Regions from separate parts of the Homo sapiens genome. Here region 2 is linked to region 1. The links are contacts of gene promoters, found by promoter capture Hi-C in human tissues and cell types (Jung and others, 2019). All regions are on one chromosome and are shown on one strand. The core of a region is centred on a gene start or on the middle of the fragment in contact, and the rest is flanking DNA. Distances in the headings are between cores, read along the strand shown. Region 1 holds the start of TNFRSF11B (TNF receptor superfamily member 11b). Region 2 overlaps LOC124902009 (a long non-coding RNA gene).

Region 1 (4,009 bases), core at 50-2,549:
ACTGCATTAGGCACTTACCACTTGCACAATTCTCTATGTGTTATATTTTAATAAAGGTTTACTTTTTTAAAAGCACTCCATAGTATCTCTAGCGATGAAGTTATACACACACACACATACATACATATATATTTTAACATACTTATGGGTAGATTCCTATCCAACTTACCTGTTCTTTAGTGTCTTTACTATTTATTTACTTATTTATGTTTCTGTATCCTAGGAACTAAGTAGAAGACTACCTAGCCTTCTATTCATTATTTGTGGGTTGGAGGTTGAAGTTCAAACATTTACTCAAACACATCCAAAACACATATGTGGCTTAAATATGGCTTTTCCTAGCCTTGCATAAATGTCTGATTCATATCTTGATGTACTCTACACTCTAGTGTCATAGAGAAAATAAGTCATTGGTCATAGAAAAACCTACATGCAAATCTTATTAACTTGATCAAAACCTAAGCTTAAAAAAAAAGCTAAGTCACAGAGATTCCTTTCTTTTCCAAATAACATTTTAAACACAATTTTTAGCCCTATTTAGTGAACTTCAATTCTTTAGATATGTTTTAGAACATAACATACTGCCAATATTCTCCACAGTATATTGAAGTTGAGAAGTGAAATAATTTTAACAATAAAATTTTATTAAAACATTACACAGTTAAGAAGTGTGTGTGTGAGAGATCTTTTCTCCTAATTATTCAAAATTTCACATAATATTTACATTAGAAAAATCTATCATGTCATATTCTAATTATAATGGTTTTAAGAAGACTAACGTCTTCTTCCAACTTACTCTGAATCTAAGGGACCACTTCTTTGCCACTAATAATAAAAGTTCAAGTTCATTAAGCAAAGATAGTATGGACTACATGAGGGCGTTAATATTCTGAGATGAAGACAGAAGGTTAATGACTAAAACTTTCAAACAAGTTTCTCTCTCTCTCTCTCTCTCCCTCTCTCTCGCTGTCTGTCTCTCTCTTGCTGTCTTCCATAAAGTCAGCAGGAACTTTGCAGCGTAAAAGGACACCCTAGGGGAAGCATGGCATAACTTGAAAGCGGTTTCCTGCTCCAGCCTAACCCCAAGCCTCTCCTGGGAGGGAGCGAGTGGAGCCTTCTCCCCGCCGGTCCGCTGGGAGGTTGGGAGACCAGGTGGCAGCAGCCTCCCCAGGCGCCGGGCACCCGTCGGCTGGCCCAGGGACTTACCACGAGCGCGCAGCACAGCAAGTTGTTCATTGTGGTCCCCGGAAACCTCAGGGGCTTGGAGGCGGCGGCTGGGCGAGCGCTCCGGTGCGTCTCCGCAGCCCGTGCGCTCATCACGTTATATATAGCGTCCCGGCAACAGGAAGTATCGCCTGCCTTTGATCAGTCATTTTTCTATCCTGGACCAAACTTTGCACCTTTCTTTTTTAGGAAGCTTGGGCGGGAGCGGTCGGGGGGTGTGCAGAAAGCTCCAGGGTTAACGCTTTCAGGGCTGGGGCGGAAAGGATCCCCCAGGGAGGTGGGGCGTGAGGGGTGGGGCGGTGGTGTCTGGCCCCTGGGAGAGCAGGGGAAAAAAAAGCCACCGGGCTGAGGAACAAGGCGGCTGCTGTCTCCGCGGGGCTCTGAGGTTTCCCGGCCCCTTCCCGCCAGCGGCCAGCCTCCTGGCAGCCGGGACCAGCGGTGGGAGGGCTGGGCACACGCTGGGCAGCTGCTGTGCTTGTGTCTCCTCCACCCTGAGAGTCCGATCCAGCCAAGATCCGGACGCAGTTGGAGTGTGTCCCAGACCTTTGTCCTCTCGCTGGGCGAAAGCTGTGAGTTTCCGCCGTACCCGGCTGCCTGACCCCTTCACTTCGGGTTCTGAAACCTCAAATTACAGGGCCCCTCTTTATGCATGGCATTGTCTGAGCCCTTTTCGGGGAGTTCGCAATCATTCATCTTCAAGTTTACATAAACCATGTAGTAGGAATTTTTCTAACTAATGTCTGATTGGCCCTAAAGCCCGTGCTATTCTGCATTCACTCCTTGTTATCTGGGGTAGTTAGAGCCAGAGAGAATCTGCAGAGTGAAAATTGGACTGCCTGGGGCAGGGATAACCTTGCGGAGCACTGTTCCCTTCACCAACCCCACCATCATCAAAGGGCTATTGGTATCGGAGCTTCCTACGCGCTGAACTTCTGGAGTAGCCTCCTCGAGGTCTTTCCACTAGCCTCAAGCTATCGACAGAAGTTTGGCACTTTGCTCTAGGGTTCGCTGTCTCCCCCATTAATTCCCTGGTCTAGAAGTTAGACTTGATGACTTGTAAAGTGTGGTCCCATTCATGGATTACAGTTCGCGGGTTGCCACTGAAATTGTTTACAGATGGCTGAAAAAGTCCCTGCAGAGCTGCTTCCCCATCAGGGCCAAGTGTTCAAGTTATATGTCTCCAGAGAAGGGCAAATACTGCCTTTCACCAGATTCAAGGGAAGGAAGGTGAAGAATCAGGAGAGGGGACCCCTGGGGAGCAAGGATGGCTTACCAGGATCAGAGCATCTGCCCCTTCCAAGGGACATCCTTCCACCACGAGTTCAAAGTGGATCCACAGACTGTTCCATCCTGCAAATTACAGAAGACGGGGTGTCATTCAGCTTTGTCCCTCAAGGGCCAGAATGTAACAGCATGCTGGTTTCTTAAGTGAACTAGTGAATAAATGTAGCTCAGTGAGTGTGGACAAAATTGTATGACTCCAAATCACTCCTTGTATTTTGAATCGTAGTTTTGACATCTGCAACCTGAGATATCAACACTTAGACTTGCCATGGGACTCAAGTCAATCCAAGTGTTAGTAGTGAAACACAATATAAATAGCAGTATTATTGTTTTTGTTAGAGTAATGTTTGTCTAGGATATTATTTGAAGGTGTTTTTCTCAGAACATAAAATGATGCCAATATGTGGGTGTCAGACCTTGGAGAAAACTAATCAATAACTGAGTCCTTCAGTGTTAACCCTGGGAAAGGTTTACGTCTCCCTGAGCCTCATCTATAAGATAAAAACACACTGATATTGCAGAAACGTAAGAGAAAGCAAATGGGAGCGTTTAAAAAACAATTATATAAATGATGGTAATCACTAATTATGAGCATTAAATAAAGTAATGCATGTAAAATAACTCAGCACAATGCCTGGCCCATAGGAAATATTTCCTATAGTTATGATTATTCTAGGGGAATACCTAAGATACTGGCCTTTGTAACCTAGATTTGAGCCCCAACTCCAATTTTTCCTAGCTCTGTGACCTCAGACTAGTTGCCTAACCTATTTTTGTTTCCATTTTTTGTTATTCCTATAATGAGGATAATAATCACATCTACCTCAAAGTATCATAACGGTTATTATAAAGATTGAATTAGATAAAAGATGTAAAACACTAAAAATAGTGTCCGGCACATAGTGCTCATTAAGTGTCATTATCATCTGAGGTTCTCATGGGGACGTTTGTATGAGCACAAGGCAAATCTAGATTGTAAGCTCCTGAGGGCAGGAACTACTTATTTTTCTATGGTATTCGCTGAAGCTTTTAGCTCAAATTCTGGCTCTCCCTGCAAAGGAGCGATGGTGGTAATTTGGGGATTCAGGGGATTGGTAATTAGCTGTAAGCTGGAGACAGGTTGGGGCACCATTTATCTAGAATCACAAAATAGACTGTGTATTGATTGTGCATCTCAGGGCCTAACTGTGGGCCCTTTATTCATCACTCACTGACAGAAAACTGACAGAGACCATGAATTATCAGTCATTTCATCTGTTATATTCTTGGAGCAATCTGGCCAATCCCCTAGGGTATTTCTAAGTAATCCACTACTGTGGGCTGCAGGCTTTGAACACTCTGAGCTGAAGTTCATTTTAAGATTTAATTGGAATGGACCCAGGGATTCCAGACTGAACCCAAAAGGGGACATTTGAACAGTAACTGGAAGACTACATTCATCTTCCTGTGACAGATCCCTCATTGGCAGAGGCCATCGGTGACATTAAGCAGAATGTTCCGT
Region 2 (3,841 bases), core at 798-3,297, 410 kb after region 1:
ATAAAGATGATAGTATATTTGGGACATCCATAGTGCACTGAATTTTCTACATGAGAAGGGTTCTTCCTTATCATAGAGTTGTTAGGGGAAAAAAAGCCATAATATTGTTAAGAAGATAACTAGAAAAAAAGAGAACAATTATTCAAAAATCATTGAAACACGAACTAGGAGAAAGTATTAGACAGTTGTAGAAGAGAGGAATATGAGCTTCAAATACTGCTTCAATATTAAACCCCTTTATATACACTAACACCAGACCTCTGAGTCACTAGGCCTCTTTTCACATTATCCTTCTTTTAGTGTCTTCTCAAAACAATCCCTACAGCCTTGCTATAAATATTTGAATAACTTCCAAGTAATCACCTGGATTCTTCTTAAAAGACCCCAGGATAGAAAACTCACTGGTTTGTAGGTCAGCCCAGTGCATCACCAAAAAGTTCATACCTCATACTCATAGGAAGCGATTGGCCTATTTTTAAATTTTAAAAGTAGAATAAAATTATATCTGATCCTTATAACTATGATAGAGATTTTCTGCTATATAAGCAAAGGCTAAGAGGAAACACTGGCCAATGAAAGGAGCAGTAGAACCATATGTGAAATGATGTTTTTTAGAATACTACCTAGAATCAATAATGTTGATTAAGAAAAGGGAAGAATAGGCTGCGCACAGTGGCTCACGCCTGTAATCCCAGCACTTTGGGAGGCCAAGGCAGGCGGATCACTTGAGGTCAGAAGTTCGAGCCCAGCATGGCTAATAAGGTGAAACCCATTCTCTACCAAAAAATACAAAAATTTGTCTGGTGTAGTGGCATGCATCTGTAGTCCCAGCTACTGGGGAGGCTGAAGTGGGAGAACGGCTGGAATCTGGGAGGCAGAGGTTGCAGTGAGCCGAGATTATACCACTGCACTCCAGCCTGGGTGATAGAGTGAGGCCCTGTCTCAAATTTAAAAATAAAAAAAGAAACGGGAAGAATGCTGTGCTTTATATTAAATCAAAACCCTCTCTCTCTCTCTCTCTCTCTCTCTGTATTTTCAGTGCCTAAAACTCTGCCTGGCATATAACGCTTAATACACATTTTGTGGAATATATGAATGTGAGATCTTTCTATTAATACTACATCAAACCATTGAGACCTCACACAACAGGTATATTTCCTTTTCTACACAACAGGTACCATGGTCTCTAGGGACTTCCCTTGTCTAGGATGAACATTTCTGATTCCTTCAACAGTTCCTAAAAGTTCTTATATTGACTGCCCTTCACTTCACGCCAGCAGTAGGACTTCGAAGTTGCCCAGCATAGAGCCTAATATTGCCTCTCAACAATATTTTGGGTGAGATATGTCAAGGTAAGTGCTGGAGTGAGAGGAGTAAGGGGAGTGAGCTCACTTGCCTGAAAAAAAGAAAAGCCAAGTTTTTTTTTATTTACCTGATTTGCTTTCTGAGCACCTCCTTATAGCCTTTTAGAGATCATTCTTCCCAATGCATCTCAACATTCTTTTTCCACCCCTGAGGCAGTCACGTAAGGATCTTTTACCTCCTCTCCTTCGCTGCCACAGAACTGGATGTTCTTTCCAGATTCTCACATGATCGTGGATTCTCTCAATCCTCACTTCTTTTTATTTTTATTTATTTATTTATTTATTTATTTATTTATTTATTTATTTATTTATTTTTGAGACGGCGTCTCACTCTGTCTCCCGGGCTGGAGTGCAGTGGCACGATCTCCACTCACCGCAACTTCTGCCTCCCGGGTTCAAGTGATTCTCCTGACTCAGACTCCCAAGTAGTTGGGATCACAGGCACCCGCCACCATGCCTGTCTAATTTTTGTATTTTTAGTAGAGATGGGGCTTTGCCATGTTGGCCTGGCTGGTATTGAACTCCTGACCTCAGGTGATCCACCCGCCTCAGCCTCCCAAAGTGCCGGGATTACAGAAGTGAGCTACTGCACCTGGCCCTCACTTCTTTATGCTGATCTCTACCTTGAGTATTCTGTGATGCAAAAATACATGAGAAAATGGGGCCATCACTTCAAATGCAGTTTTTGTTCGATCATCATTTTTCACATCTTGTTGACATTTGGAGAAGAGTACAATATGAAGCTTCTTTTGTATTTCCACCATGAAATTTAGCAAGTTTGAATCAATCCTTTGTGAGGCCCATCCTTTTCCTCCCCCATTAGAATGAAATATAGCTTTAAGCTTGAGTTATGTATCTTAGAATATGGTTTAACAAAAGCTAAAACCTAAAAAAAAAAAAGGGCATGGCATCCTTGGTATTTGTGGGTGAACTCTGTGGTGACTGCTTTAATTAATTTATGTAATTGGAATTTCACCAAGACATAAATTTACTCATATCTATTTTTAAAGACAGGAATATTGATCTTGGACCAGCAATAAATTCCTGTAATATTTGTCCTCAGTAAAAAGCCAAGACAATTCTAGGCCATTTCTTTTTGTCTTGAAAACGTTATGCCAAAATCATCATTTTGTTGGCTGCATACATCCTGATTTATATTCGATGAGAGTTATAAAAGGCTTTTATAGTGGAGATGGCCGAGTGACATTTTCCTATAAATCACGATCATTTTTACTGCTACAAAGTTCTAGGACTGAACTTCAAATACAACCGTGCTGTAAACTCTGTGGATGGAACCACATACTTGCTGAATGAGAAACATGTTTCCCTTTCACCATGAGTGACTGCATATTCCAGTCAGTCTCTGGCAGATGAGAGCATCACTAAAACCCAGGGAACCATGCTCAGCTTTGATGAAGCAGCTTGTGAAACGCAGGTCACCCAGAACACCTTTGAATACAGCTATGCTTTCAGCCTCATGAATAATTCAGGTCCATATAGATACTATATGTTGAGCTGAAATAACCTAGCCATTAAAGGTAACAAGAATGAGGGGAAGCTAATTTTGGCAAACATCAGTATTGTGCATCAGAAATATAACACTATAGATCAGAATCCTATTTCATTCAATATGAATCCTTATGAGAATGTCTTCTGATCACAGGGGTGTCATCTTTGCACATAACTCTCCTCATCCTCAAGTGACCATACCTGTTAGATTCAAAGGTAACTTGCTTTTGTAAGAAAGTAGCGTAGAGCAAAGATGAGGGTACCAGGGATTAGAAGCTCTGAATTTTCTTTCAACCCATCTTAGTGAAAAAAAACAACAACCTGGATTTAGAAGGCAGAAGAATGGCTTATGTGATTTTAGAAAAGGGATATTAAACCTCTTCATCCCTAGGTTATTTATCCATAGTCACAGATGTTCTATTAATAATATAGGTGAAAGAAATGTCACCGTATCCCCTACTCCCACTAAAGTAAATTAAACCTGGTTTAAGTATCCACTTACTAAGAGAAGCAAAAGCTTTAGGGCCAATTCTGGATGTTTTCTACCCTACTCTTTGTGGGTAACAGAACCCAGACTTACATAGTCAAGGAAGACTGTGACAGTGGCATCTCATCTTCAATAACAAAGTGGTAGACATTGTGATTGTTTGTTTCCTAAGACTGTTATCCACTCAAATATGCACAGCTTTTTCTAGCAGCCTCATGTTCTTCATGTCACCTTCAGATATAGAGATCTTTACCTAGGCTCCCAAAGGAGGAGCTTGGTGCCAAGTCTCTCCTGGTACCAGCGTAAGTCCCCTACACCAAAGAGCTTTCTACCTTCATAGTTTTATTATGAGCAGGAATTATCCAATTCATTACACTTTGTTCACATTTGCAGTCTGGTAAAATTATCTATCTGGTTTAGACTGGGCTCTGTTTCAATCCACTGAAACCACAGCCTGCCTCCTCATTTTGTCTCTGACAAT

The links. Contacts are between HindIII fragments. The study calls those that stand out against the background at their distance.
Region 2: a fragment that was not itself captured here is called in contact with the fragment with the promoter of TNFRSF11B in region 1 in 1 of the 25 tissues and cell types used here (mesenchymal stem cells).

Annotation. Positions count from the first base shown.
Region 1 is chr8:118,950,586-118,954,594 of GRCh38, forward strand. TNFRSF11B (TNF receptor superfamily member 11b) reads right to left here and starts at 1,300. Exons shown (of 5, transcript NM_002546.4): 1 at 1,207-1,300. The coding sequence starts at 1,236. It also overlaps a transcript of COLEC10 not described here. The HindIII fragment of the contact is 2,925 bases long and covers 941-3,865 here.
Region 2 is chr8:119,359,709-119,363,549 of GRCh38, forward strand. All of the region lies in intron 1 of LOC124902009 (a long non-coding RNA gene), which reads right to left. Among named protein-coding and RNA genes, the nearest start is that of MIR548AZ, 36 kb to the left of the region's middle. The HindIII fragment of the contact is 4,422 bases long and covers 1-3,841 here.